2 separate regions of the Homo sapiens genome follow, and region 1 is linked to region 2. The links are contacts of gene promoters, found by promoter capture Hi-C in blood cells and fetal thymus (Javierre and others, 2016). All regions are on one chromosome and are shown on one strand. Each heading gives the region's core, a stretch centred on a gene start or on the middle of the fragment in contact. The rest is flanking DNA. Distances are from core to core; before and after follow the strand shown.

Region 1 (6,502 bases), core at 2,080-4,579, 160 kb after region 2:
ATGCACAGAGCCTGGCACACAGCAAGTGCTCAGCAAATGTTCGCCCCCAGCATGGGGCTTGCTGGCTCGTGACATCTTGAGTGACTGTGTTTGGCTTAACTGCTACTTGAGTCCCCCAGCAGTACCAGGCTTCAGGAGAGGATTCAGTGTAGTGGATTAAGCCCTGAGGACTGAACTCCAGACTAAGCATCCTGAGACTTGAGTTTGAATCCTGCCTCTGCCACCAACCAGCCTTGTGCCCGCGGGCAACTCTCGCCTCTCCACTTTCCCACTTGTAAAAGGAGCACATCTTTGCCATGTTGCTGTGAGCTTGGTTATGGGTAAATGTGCTCTGGAAGTACTAAGTCCTACCCAGATGAAATTCTTCCTTCAGAAGCCCTTTTCCTTCAGTCTTTTTTTTTTTTTTTTTTTTTTTGAGGTGGAGTCTTACTCTGTCACCCAGGCTGGAGTGCAATGGTGCCATCTGGGCTCACTGCAACCTCTGCCTCCCAGGTTCAAGCGATTCTCCTGCCTCAGCCTCCCAAGTAGCTGAGATTACAGGCATGCACCACCACACCTGGCTAATTTTTGTATTTTAGTAGAGACCGTGTTTCACCATGTTGGCCAGGCTGGTATCAAACTCCTAACCTCAAATCATCTGCCCACTTTGGCCTCCCAAAATGCTGTGTTTGCAGGTATGAGCCACTGCCCCCAGCCCCCTTTCCTTCAATCTAATAGCTCACAAGTTCAATACCATAGTCAGGAGAGGAGTGTAGCTCCCAAACCCTCAAAATCCTCATCTCGTCTTGCTGTGTTCTCAGCATATCACCCCAAATGGAGGAAAGGACATAACCACAAAAATGAGGAGACAATGAAAAATGAAATTAGGGAAGAGAAGATGCAGTGAAAGAGACACGTGAAATCCACAGGCCGAGGCAGAAGAGGAAAGTGATGGCGGCGAAGGGGAGGGAGGTGGCATGACAAGGAGACAAGGCAGTTGCAGACCTGCACAGAGTTCCCACTGGGAAGATCTAAACTAAACACATTCTGCCGTGCTGTGTCACTTACGACTGCTGTCACCTGTGAGATCCCATTTGATTCTCTCAATAGCCCTCTAAGGTAGATATTGTCACCCCCCTCTTTTCACAGATGGGGAAGCTGAGGCACAGCTAGTGAGTGGCAGAGCCAGGGCTAGAACTCAAGTCTCCTGACTCAAACTCAGAGTTTCTGCAACACCACGGAGACTCCCAGTCTGCGTGAGATACAAGCCTCGGTGTTGTCAGAAGAACAAAAAAGAAGCAAAGGGTGGGCATGTCCTTTGGAGCTCTGTGAGGTGCCCAGAGCTCACAGAGGCTGCCTCAGCAAAGGAAGGTGTCAGCAATGGGAGATGGGGCTGGAAATGCTGTCTGGGCACAGCAAGGGGGCCTCTGGGTGCTAGGAAGGGGAATCCCCACCTCTTTCAGGGAGCTGTAGAGGAGCCACTGAAAAGTTTTAACAAAGGAGAGATAAAAAGAGAGGAAAATTCAACCCCAAAAGTCTCCTTCTTACAGCCCATGCCTCTACTTCCAGGGAGGCCAAATGGGAGTAACCCCCAGTCCCAGACCCTGAGTCACTTCCCTCCAGCCAAGAGGCCCGTCACCCTCCGAGGCCCCACACTGATGCCAGGACCCCACCTAGAGGTGCCGGCTTGATCGGTCTCCAGGCTGGGCCTTGGGATTTTTAAAAGCTTCTGGAATGGATTGCAGTTCCAGCCAAGATGAAGAACCCCTGAGAAAGACAGAGGGAGACAGAGACAAAGGGAGAGATAGAGACAGAGAGAGAAACTGATGAAAGAAAACAGATGTGGTGAGGAGAAGAAAGCAGACGAATGATGCGGGAGGGAAGGAAAAGAAATGAGGGGAAAGCCTCGTGTGGGTGGAAAATGCGGGAGGGAGACAGGGGAGGAAAGAAAGGAAACTGTAAGGTGGGAGCAAGTCAGAGACCGAAGAAGCTGCTGTGACTCAGTGAGGACCCTGTCTTCTCCCTCACCCGGAAAGCCTCCAAGAAGAACATTCCCCGCTGACATAGGCATGGACTGCCCAGACCCGGCTGACGAATTTCTGAAAGGGCACCTGAGCCACACACCTACACACGCTTCCCCTGATTATTCTCATCTGCAGTCAGGGGCCCCGGAAGCCCCCTGTCTCCTGTGCCCTCCCTGTCCCCCGACTCTCACTCAACAAACTGGCCCTCGCCCCGCAGCCAGGCAGCCTCCCTCCCCAGGTCCCTTAGCCTCAGCCTCCCGCCACCGTTCAACACCCCACCTCCCTTTCACAGGGCCATCTCCAAAGTCATGTCCTTTTTCTCCTGATCTTTCTCTCCTTCCAATGCCAAAATCCCACCCACAGACCCTCAGGGGGACCAATCACCCCTCCCCTCTTCATCCCCAGTAAACCAAATCTCGGTGGCTCCTGCGGCCCCCCGACTCCCACACAGCGCCCTGGCTGATGAGCTGGGCCTTCCTGGGCTGCTTTATTTCCCTGCAGCCCCATAAAAGCAGCTTCATTAAGAAAACCACACACTCTGCTGAGCTGCCAGAGGCATCCAGAAGCTGGAGCCGCAGCCGCTGAATGAGGCCTGTGGGCCGGGCTGCCTCCACTTCCTGGGACTCTCAGCGCACCCCTCCGCCCTGTGCCCACCTCGCCTCTGAAGCCCTCCCTAGGCCCTGCTCAGAACCCTCCCCACCCCACCCCGCAGACCCCTCTCCCGCTCCTCTGCTTCTTCCTCCCTCTCATGCCAAGGCCAGGTCCTCCCTTGCCAGTCCTGAAGGGAGATGTCACAAAGGCCGTTTTCCTGAGACAGGCCCTGCCCACACTGGGCAGTGACCCGCGGTGCTGGCCCAGTGTGCCCAAGCCCTCCAAGTCCCCAGGCTGGGAGAAGGAATCTCAGCTTTGGGAATGGCAAACGTGCAGGGTGGGCTCACAGAAGCCTCCTCCCGAGGGCCTGCTCAGCCAGCAACAGAGTGCTCCAAGTCATGCATCTGCTCTGAGGCCGAGTTCCTTGTTTATAGAGCACAGAAGCCATTACCCACCTCTCCGGCCATTGGAAAGACTAAATGAATGAATATGCACGTAGAGCATTCAGACCTCTGCATAAGAAAAAGTTCCCCAGAAATGGCAGCGATTATTACTATTATTATTTATTACTGGACTATTGAGCAGTCTGAATTTGGTAGGGTATAAAAATGGAACTAAAAAATAAAAAGTCACTGCCTTCTACCAGATCTGTCAAAATCCTCCCTGACACGGTCTCTCCACAGCGTCTTGAGCAGACCTCAGCGTTGTCTGGTCCTGTCCAGAAGGGCTTCCTACTCCAGTCTGGCATCCTGTTCACCCCTGGCCATCCTCCTTCCCTCATGCTTGTGGCTCAGGATGTGGAGTGGGACAGGGACCCCTGCTGAGGCCCTCCACATCCTCCCCTGGTGGGCAGCCCATGGAAAAACTGTCCTCATATCACTCTACCCCACTTGGCCAATGGAGCGCAAATAGATGACTTGCCACAGCCAACAGTGGCAGGCTGGGCTCCTTGCCCTGCTGTACTCTATGGGTCTCCTGCCAGTCCACTGCCCTGCAGATGCCACTGGGGATTTGCATGCCATGCTGCCCCTCTTGCAGGTATCTAATCACCATGAGCTGTTTCCCCAAGAAGTACCACAAAAACACTACGCCTAGGACAGAATTCTTCCCACCTTTCCCTTGCCCAGTCTTCTTTCCCATCCCAGGAAGGTGGGCTGGGTGATGGTTGGAGGTAACAGGGCCTTTGAGGAAGCCCTAGGAAGATGTCTGGCTCTGCCCATTGGCAGCTTTTTACAGAATGGGGCACTGGGCCACTTTAGCCTCTGTTTTGAGCCATTGTTGCCACTTCTAGGGCACCAGGAAAAATCCCAATCAAATTCCTACTCATCATTAACATTGAGTTAGGGAGGAAGCAACGAAGAAGTGGTAAGGGTGAATCTAGAAACAATGAGTTGGGGACAGGCTGTGGGCCTGACCCCAATAACACTAATCAGCTCAAACCTGTCCCCAGTGTTACCACTGGCAGAGTGAGGAGTGGTTTGAACTCAACACAGGAGTCTGGGGCAGAGCCTGTGCCAGTCAGGGTGATTCTGATGAGAGAGAGCTGGAAGCTCACAGCTCCATTCAGCACCCACCAAAAACCAGGCTCACACCCACATTCCTTGCTGTCTCCCTGGGACCCGACCACCACCCTGGTTGCACCACCCTCTCCCAACCCCCCTCAGGAGCTGGGAGGCCATGGAAGCAGCGCTGTGTAGGGAGTCAAAAGTCCTGGTAGGTCCAGGCTCTTCACCTACCACATGACCTTGGGCAGGTCCTCCAACATCTCTGAGCACCATCTTTGAAAGAGGAGTGGGCAACAATGCCGGCTCTACAAGGTGGTTGTTGGAACTAAATGAGATTCCAGGTGTCAATGCTTTGTCCCTGGGGAGCACTGGGCCCAAGTGAGGGGCCACTCTGACTGTTGGAGATCCCCACAAGAGATTCCCCTCCCACACCCCACGGCTCCTACCTGTTATTGCCACCGAAGCCGCAGTTGTCCCTCTCTCCCCAGACATTTCGGTGGCCGGTGGCCAGCAGCATCGACAGAAATGAGATGCTGGAGATTCAGGTTTTCAACTACAGCAAAGTCTTCAGCAACAAGTAAGTGTGGGATGGGGCAGGAGGGGCTGGGCCTGGACGGGCTGGGAGCCTGCTCTTCTCCTTGGGCTACCCTCTGTTTGGGGCTTAAAAAGGGGACCTACACTCCCAACCTGCCCTGGATTGATCTTCAAAGACCGAAGAAATCTTGGGCTGGTCTTTGATCCCCATTTTGATCCCTCTTCTTGTCTTCAGAATCCCCCAGTTCTCCCAGCTGCTGTCAGCCAAGAACACTCCACCCTCCTATCACCTCTGCTGTCTCCAACCCCATCAAAGCTTCCTGTCTTAAAGACTTAAAGCTTTAAGTCTCCCTCAATGCCACGCTGGGGTACAGTTACCCACTGGAGAGGCGAAAGGTGGAGGGGCTGATGATCTCCTCCAAGAGACACTCTGTAGCCCTGAGGGCAGGCTTGACAGTTTGGGGTGGTGGTTTAGGAGTCAGGCAAGCCTGATCTCAGACACTCAGGTCAGTCATCTACTGTGTGACCCTGGAAAGGTTACATAACCTCTCTGATTTCAATGTGCTCATGTGTGAAAAGGACAAGTATTTACCTCAAAGGGCAGCTGTGTGAATTAAATGAGATAGATATTCACTCACTCATTCAACAAATGTTTACTAAGCGTCGATTGTGTATCAGGTACTGAATTAGGTGATGCAGAGGGCGGGGTGCCTACCTTCATGGAGCTTGCACTCCACAAGTGAAGTACACCTGCCATACGAGCGTTATCACTATAAGGTGTTCAATAAAAGTAGTTGTCATCCTTCTCTCTGGGCCATGAGAAGAATTCAGAAGGATTTGAACACGCTGGAACAGTGGCTAAGTAATATCTTGGGTTAAAAAATCACAGCCAGGTGTGGCACACACCTGTAGTCCTAGGTCCTTGGGCAGATAAGGCGGGAGGATCATTTGATCCCAGTAATTTGAGGCTAGCCTGGGCAACATAGTGAGATCCCATCTCTTTAAAAAAAAATCGGTTGCTCTTATACAAGCTGGAGGTCATGGCTTAACTGTAACATGTCCAAGAAGGTATGGAGGTGTTAGCTCACTGAGGACTCAGAATGACTCAACAGTGGGAGGAGACTACAAACAAAAGAAAAGTAGGCCTCATCCTAAATCATACTAATAGAATTAAAGCACTCCTGATCTGAGCAGGAGAGACAAGGAGTCCACTGCTCTGATACTAGTGGCAGAGAATTCCTGTAGGCACCACCCTATAGTTTCCAGGAGGAAAGGGACTTTAAGTGTTACCTTATAACAAATGGATGAGAGCCTGAAAGGGAAAATCATAGAGGACATATTCATCCATTCATCCATCCATTGATCCATTCATCCATCCATCCATCTATCATTCCTGTTATTCATCCATCTGCCTATCCATTTGTCTGTCCATCAATTGATTTATCCACCCTTCCTTTCTTTCATCCATCCTTCCATCCTTTCATCCATCCATTCATCAATCCATCCCTCCATCCATTTATCAATTCATTTATCCACCCATTTATCCATCTATCCATTCATCCGTCCATCCTTTCATTCATCCTATCCATCCACTCATCCATCCATCCATCCATCCATTCACCCATCCTTCCTTTCATCCATTCATTCATCAACCCAATCCTTCCATCTTTCCATCCATTCATCCACCACTTACCCTTTCATCCTTTCCATTCATCCTTCCATCCACTCATCCATCCATTCATCCATCCTTCCACCTTTTTTCTTTTCCTTTTTTTTTTTTTTTTTTTTGAGACAGAGTCTTGCTCTGTGGCCCACAGTGGAGTGCAGTGGCCTGATCTCGGCTCACTGCAACCTCCGCCTCTCTGGTTC
Region 2 (7,047 bases), core at 2,504-5,003:
CATCACTAAGCACGGCTTGGCTGTGTCAGGCCTGGCTGGGTCTGAGCTTCATAGCATATGGAGTCAAAGGAAGCAGCCAAAAGACCAGCAGGGAAAGAGCACTGGGCTTGGAGTCAGAAGACCCAGCTTCCCACTCTGACTCTGCTGCTTACCAGCTGGGTGACTGGGGGAGCCGCTTCCCTTCCCTGAGCCTTCACGCCTTCATCCATGCAGCAGAGCTAACAATACCTGCCCAGCAACTTCACCAAGTCATGAAGACTGAGAATCATGACAAGAGATGCAAGTGCATTGTGATCACTAAGGTAGCAAATGATGGGAAGTGCTGTCATTATTCCATCCCAATGGGACACCCGGTATCTCAGAATGAGACTCATTCATGTTTTCAAAGGGGTCAGGTGAACACAGGCTGCTGCCCTTGGGTTTGGGGCCATTATCAGCCTAACTAAGGCCCCTTTCTACCATCTGATCACAGCCCAAATAGGTTTTTCTTAGAGCAGAGCCCCTGTGGACAGCTTCCAGCAAGGTGGCATAGCCACAGTGGAAGGCAACACAAAGCCAGGATGGTCAGGTGGGGCAGGGAGGGAGGGGCCCCCACAGAACCAGGGGGGTGGTCTGATGTTGTCTTTCCTCTTGCCCAGCACTTTATAAATAAATAATCACCAGAACCGCACTCTGTCTGCCTCTCCCCCCATGGCTTTTAGCGTCTCTCTTGGTGAGGACTGCAAGCACTTTGGGAAACGGCAGAGGAAGAGGGAAGGATGCTACCCTTTCATTTCTGCACACCTTAAACCCATCAATAGCATTCTGTGTGTGCTCACAGCCTCTGGGTACTATGCTGGCACTTGGAGCACAGAGACAGGAACTGCAGGACCTGCCCACATGGAGGTTGAGTACAGTGTGGTCAAAGAGACAAAACACTTCCCCTATAATGCAAATAACCATTCAAAACAGCCAACAGCGTGTCACCCAGATCATCCTCACAGTGAGACCTGCAGTTGTCCAGAGCAGTGGCCTGGGAGGCTTTGAGGAGGAGGGGGGATTTGAGCTGGACCTGGAAGGTTAGCATGGACAAGATAAATAGAAGGTAGAGCCAGGCGCAGTGGCTCACACCTGTAATCCCAGCACTTTGGGAGGCCCAGGTGAGAGGATCGCTTGAGGCCAGGGGTTTGAGGTTGTGCTGAACTATGATTACACCACTGCATTCCAGCCTGGGTGAGACAGAGTGAGACTCTTTCTCTCAAAAAAAGAAAAAAGAAAAGAAAAAGGGCAGAGAAAAAGGCATGCCAGACAGGCATACTTAAGGTATTCTCAGAGGACAGGTTGGCAGCTATCGAGAGGGATCACATAAGTAAGAAGTGAGATGTGAAGTCAGACATAGAGGTTGGAGCCAGGTATGGAGATCCTCAAAATTTGAGATAAGGAGCATAGACCAGATTCCATGGACAGTGGAGAGTCATTGAGGGATTCCAAGAAGGGAATTGGTTTGGTGACAGCTGAGTTTTTCTTTCTGGCAGCATTGTCCAGGGGAGCATGCCTTGTTGTGGGGTAGGCAGGGAGGTCAGTTGGGAGGTTACTATGAAGCTGGGGACCATGGGCCTGAGAAGGAAAGGGGACACGCGTGAAGGCTTGACGTGTGGAAAAGAGGGAGAGAGAGGGTCCAAAGATGTTCAGTCTGATTCTTTTGATTCTCCAGACAGCTAAACAGCTACTGAAACCCTGGCAAATAGTAGTGGGGTGTGAGAGTGGAAGAGACTGCAGACCAAATCTGGGCTGGTGTTTTTCAGGAAGCGGGCTCCTCTTTGGGCAGACCTAAGTCTGATCATCCTATCCTAAACTCACAGGACCAGTAGGACCCAGAGGTGCCCCAGCTGGGCCACATCCACTCCCAGGGCCCTTTCCTCCCTCTTCCAAGAGAAGAATCCAGAAACGACACAGCATAGCTCCCCATGGTCCCCAGGGAGCCGTAGATTCTTGGAACAGTGTCCTGCAGTGGATAGACCGCAGGAAGAGTGTCTAGTCCTGCCTTTTACTCCCTCAGCTCCTGTTGACTCCCAGGAAAACAATGCCATCTTCATGGGCTGCGCTAAGTGGCAACGAACCCCTGGGAGTCTGATCAAGGCAGGGAAGGGGACTAGGGAGAGGAGAGGGAACAGTAAAGACAGAGGAAACTGCTTCTGGAGGCATCTCAATGGGCTTTGGGGGAAGGTGGGTTTCATCTCAGAATCCAAGCACGTCGGGGCTGGGGAGGAGCTCTTGAGATCATTTTGGCCACCCCTCCTTGTCTGGAGGTGAGCCTGAGACCCAGACAGGGGAAGGGACTTGCCCAAGGTCATATATCACGGTAGTGATGGAGCTGGGCTGAAATCATAGGGTGTTGGGGACAGGTAAGGTGTTATTCCCGTCTGGACAGTTTTGAATAGCACCACCAAGGGCCTGGCTAGAGATTCCTTTCCTGGGCAACGTTTGTTCTCTCTCTCTCTCTCTGTCTCTCTCTCTGTGTGTGTGTGTGTGTGTGCCCGCCCTGTGTGTACCCTGTGAGTGCCTGTGTGTATCTGTGTGCATGTGTGCCTATGCCTGTGTTGTCTGACAGTCTGGGTGTACGTGTGGCCTCCTACATGGTGATCTGCCCTGGCTTGGAAAGAACTGGGGTTATTCCTGTGAGGTGACTGTTTTGCTGGGACAGCAGAGAAGAAGGCTGACAAGGCCAGATCTGGCTTCCCGCACCAATTCTGCCGCTCTGAGAAAATCACAGGCACTGACTGGTGGCGACCAAACTCCTGGAGCTGAAACACGCAGACACACGTACACTCACAGCCGCCGTTATAGGGTGGCCCCAAGTGCCCCGAAGTGCCGCATTCCGACATCCTCATGCCTCCCCAGAGCCCAGCAGGTGTAGACCTGCTAGGCTGTGGAAGCCGATCCTCAGGGATACGGAGCACTGGCGCTCTCCCGCCGCTCACTCTCAGCGCCCTGTTCAGGGCCTGGCCCGGCCACACCCCTCCTGCCCGAGCCTCCGCCGGTCGTCCCTGCCCCTCTCACACACTTCGGAGTCCCTGGGGGCCTATGCAACATGGCAGGGCCAAGTTAGGGCTGGCCCGGCCGGAGAGTCAGGTCCGGAGCCAGGAATCGACGCCTCCCCGAGTTCCGTCCCCGCGGAGCACACACGCCAGGCTGAACTCGGGTTTCTGCGAGCGCAGGGTTCGGCGCCCAGCCCCTCTCGGGGGAGCCCCCGCCCCCAGCCCCAGCCGGCCCCGGACGACTCCCGGAGCCCCGCGCCCAGCCCTGGGTTCCCGCCCCCCGCCCGGCGAGCCGTTACCGATGGTGGTGATGACGGTGATGGCGAAGTAGAAGGAGCCGGCGAAGCGCCACTGCACGCCGGCCTTGTGCGGCTTGAGGCGCAGCACGACGCGCTCCAGCTCCTCGTAGCCGCCCTGGCTGAGGTTGTAGCGCGCCCGCAGCTCCTGCTGCCGCAGCTCCAGCCGCTGCCGCTCGATCAGCTCGGGCTCCGACTCCAGCGCGTCGAAGACCGCGGCGCCCACCAGCAGGTAGGTGAAGGTGCACACGATGAGCGCCAGCGTGCGCACGTTCTGCCGCTTCATCGTCCCGCCCGGGCCGCCGCCGGCCCCCCGGCGCCCCCGGCCCGCGCCTCGGCCCCGGCCGCCGCTGCTGCTGCCCCGGAGGCGGCCTGGGGCATGGCTGCGCTCGCCGCTCTCCGCGCCGGGCACCCGCTCAGCGCCCGGGGCCGCCGCCGCCGCCGCCGCCGCGGAGCTGTCCCTTCAGCACCACCCACCGCCCTCCTCCGCCCGGCCCCGCGCCCGCCCCCCGCCCCCCGCCCGCAGGCCGCCTCCTCCCGCCAGCCCTCCCGCCCAGCCAAATAAGGACTGGGGAGACGCGCCGAGGAGGGAGGAGGGGGGCTGGCGGAGGGGACGGGAGGGGCGGCCGCGAGAGAGCCCGGGCAGGACAGAGAGAGAGAAAGAGAGAGAGAGCGAGCCCGAGAGACAGAGAAAACTAGACAGCGAAACGCTGATAACTACGGAGAATGGGAGAAAGGCAGTGTAGGACTGAGGGAAGGGGGCTGTGTGACAGAGGAGGAGATAAAATCAGAGGTGCACTCAGACAGAAAAAGAAGAGAGGCGGGCAGAAAAATACAGAGCAAAAGATGGAAACAGAGAGAGCAACAGACTGAGACAGAGAGGCCTGGATTGCTGGAGATAAACTAATGACAGAGAAACAGACAGGAAGGCAAGGAAGGCAGAGCGAGCCCCTCCCCACCCCACCCTCCACCCTCATCACAGCATATTGCAGCCAGGAGGCACTTGGGGCCTCGCTGTCCTGCCCTTATCCTATGGATGAGGAAATGGAGGCCCAGAGAGGTCAAGTGACACGCATGGGCACGCAGTGATTTCGTGACAGCACTGGGACTCAGCCAAGCGTTCCTTCCTCCCAGGCCACACTCCTTCCTCCCTTGGGCCAGACTCTGGCTGTCTTGGAAGCAGGCAGGGCCCAGCTGTGGACCTGGGCACACATGAGCTGACACCCAAGGGAAAGCCCTGTTCTCAGGCAATGTGTGCCTTCCCAGGTCAGCACAGTTCTTGGAACTGGCTGAGAAGGCACAGGCTGGGAGTCTAGGCCTCCTGCTTCGCTCCCAGGGGCTTCTAGGCTGTCCCGACTCCCATGGTTCCTGTCTTGCACCCGTGCACCAGGCTGGGCTTAGGCTGAGTTGCCAGAGATAGCACCTGCCACCACCTTAGGGCATCCCAGCAGAACCGGGATCTAGCTGGAATTGGGCAGGTGGGGCCCAGAGCAGGAGGCTCACTGGCAGACTGCGGGAACTGGGGCAGGAGAGGGGGTCCCTATGCCTCAGTTTCTTCATTTGTCAAACATGGTGGCTATGGTGGTGAGGTGGGAAGGGTAGTGGAAACTCAGGCATTACTGACCCTCTCAGAGCCTTGTTTCCTTATCTTTTCAACGAGGTGTCGTAGCAGATGATCCCACAGGCCTTGCCCAGCTCTAAACAACTCCAGACTTGGATGGGCTGAGTGAGCAGAATGATTGGAATGCAAATCTCAGTGCCAAGAAGGGTTAAAAAGTCCTTCACAGGACCCTGGCATGGGCCAGGCAGAGAGACAGGGAAGAGACACCAAGGCCCCTGACTGAGAGCAGACTCAGGAGGCAGTCAGCCAGAAGCTGGAGCACTGTCTACCCACAGGCTGGGCTGACCTGTCACTGCCGGACACTACACTCCTCCAATGACACCCCAGAAGTGCCACCAACCCCTTCATTCCTTCAACAAGTATTTATTAAGCATCTGTTGTGTGTCAGGGATTCATCATCTCTGGTCCTCACCACAATCCTGAAAGGTAGGTGTGGTCATGCCTATTTTATAGATGGGGAAACTGAGGCTAAAGGCAATGTAGAGAATCAGTAAATTTCACTCAGCTGGGAAGAGGCTTCAGTCTGTCTGCCTCTTAAGCCCATGCTCTTTGCCATGACTCCTTGAGTCTCTCTTTTTTTTTTTTCAATTTGTAAAGTGGAATAGATAATAATATTAGCTCTACCCGCGTCTTGAACCATTTGTTTTGAGAGATCAAAGAAGAACACATGTGTGCAAATCAGATGATATGAGGCTCTCTAATGACTTCAGAGCCCAATGGGAGGGTCCTACATTTATAGCACCATGTTCCCCCTCCCTCTTCAAGGGAAGATCTTTGTTTCTTTGCAGGCACAGAATTTCTGGTCTTGCCCTCTGACCAGCAACTCAGCCTATTGCAGGCTTTTCCCCTTTGCATCTTCTGGCTCCCTGGAAGGAAAGTACTGCCTTTCCCAGCTTCTCAGAGGTGAAGGTACAAGTTAGGTTCTGTGCATTTCTGATGTATTGGCTCCTGGTGACAGTCACCCCAGAAGCGAATTCCCCCAAAGCCTGTCTAGATGAGCAAGAGGGTTGCTAGACCAGGTTTTCAAGGTGAAAAGGCTGTGTCCAGGTTCTGCTTGCTTGTGACTGCCAGGCCAGACAGCTGTACCGATGAAAGGTGATATTATGAGTGAAAGAGCTTTGGAAAAGGGAAAAAGCTGTCTTTAGGGGCAGGGCATGTATTATTAATCATGATGAAGCTTTTTCTCTGAGCACTTCAATACTGAAAGGACCTTTAGAGATCATTTAGCCCAACCTTCTCATGTTACATATGAGGAAACTGAGGCCCAGACAGTAGGAAGAGTGTTGTCCAAGGTCACACAGTGAGTGAGGGGGAACCAGGACTCATGTCCCAAGGTTGGCACTTTCTTGTTGCACCTATTATGTGTGGGACCAGGGCACCTATCAGTGGGGAGGCCCTGAAGCCCAGAGGGCAGCCTAGGTCTCCTTCTTCCTGCCCCTCCTCTCTCCTTCTCTTGGGGAGAAGGTTCTGGAATAGGAGCCATGTTGGTACCAGTCTAGGTTTCTGAGTAGCCCCTGGGACTTGTAGGCAACCTGGGTCAGATTGTGCCAAAGACATATCAGCTTATCCCATTTCTTCCCATCCTGGGCTCCTCAGACCTGCCTGTGCCTGCCCAGTGTCAACCTGTCTCTGCCACCTGTTTGCTCTGGCATTGGGGGCCAGTCGCTCCTTCTCCTTGAGGCTTGCTGCTCATCCATCAGTGGAGGGGTCTGGACCAGGAAATGTCCACACTCCCTTCATTTATAGCATCCCATGACCTTCCCGGACTCTGTTTCTCTAGTTCTCCCAATAATCAGACAAAAAGAGGAAATAGCACTACTTTTAAGATTCTAGTTTGTGAGGAAAGGGACACAGAGTTAGGTAGGATAAATTGAACAGAATGTGTCATTAGTTACTATATTTTATTATATACTAACATCATACACAATTATTAACCAGCTTTATCTTCCAGTCCATTCTTCTCTAAGTTCTAAACACATCCAAGTACTTCCATGCTTCACATGGCTCATGTGGCTCCCATAACCTGGGATGCTGGTGCCTCCTTGCCTTTCCCATCTTCTGTCTGTTGAACTCCTATTCAGGCTCCAAGACCCAGCTTAAAGACCACTCCCTC

The links. The method cuts DNA at HindIII sites, captures the fragments that hold promoters and counts their contacts. A CHiCAGO score of 5 or more calls a contact.
Region 1: a fragment that was not itself captured here is called in contact with the fragment with the promoter of KCNK3 in region 2 in 1 of 17 cell types (M1 macrophages); the score reaches 5.2 in M1 macrophages.

What each region holds. Positions count from the first base shown.
Region 1 is chr2:26,526,006-26,532,507 of GRCh38, reverse strand. OTOF (otoferlin) reads left to right here. Exons shown (of 47, transcript NM_194248.3): 3 at 4,588-4,676. Among named protein-coding and RNA genes, the nearest start is that of OTOF, 29 kb to the left of the region's middle. The HindIII fragment of the contact is 3,244 bases long and covers 1,708-4,951 here.
Region 2 is chr2:26,689,428-26,696,474 of GRCh38, reverse strand. It overlaps KCNK3 (potassium two pore domain channel subfamily K member 3), which reads right to left and starts at 3,753. Exons shown (of 2, transcript NM_002246.3): 1 at 3,317-3,753. The coding sequence starts at 3,599. The HindIII fragment of the contact is 28,883 bases long and covers 1-6,113 here.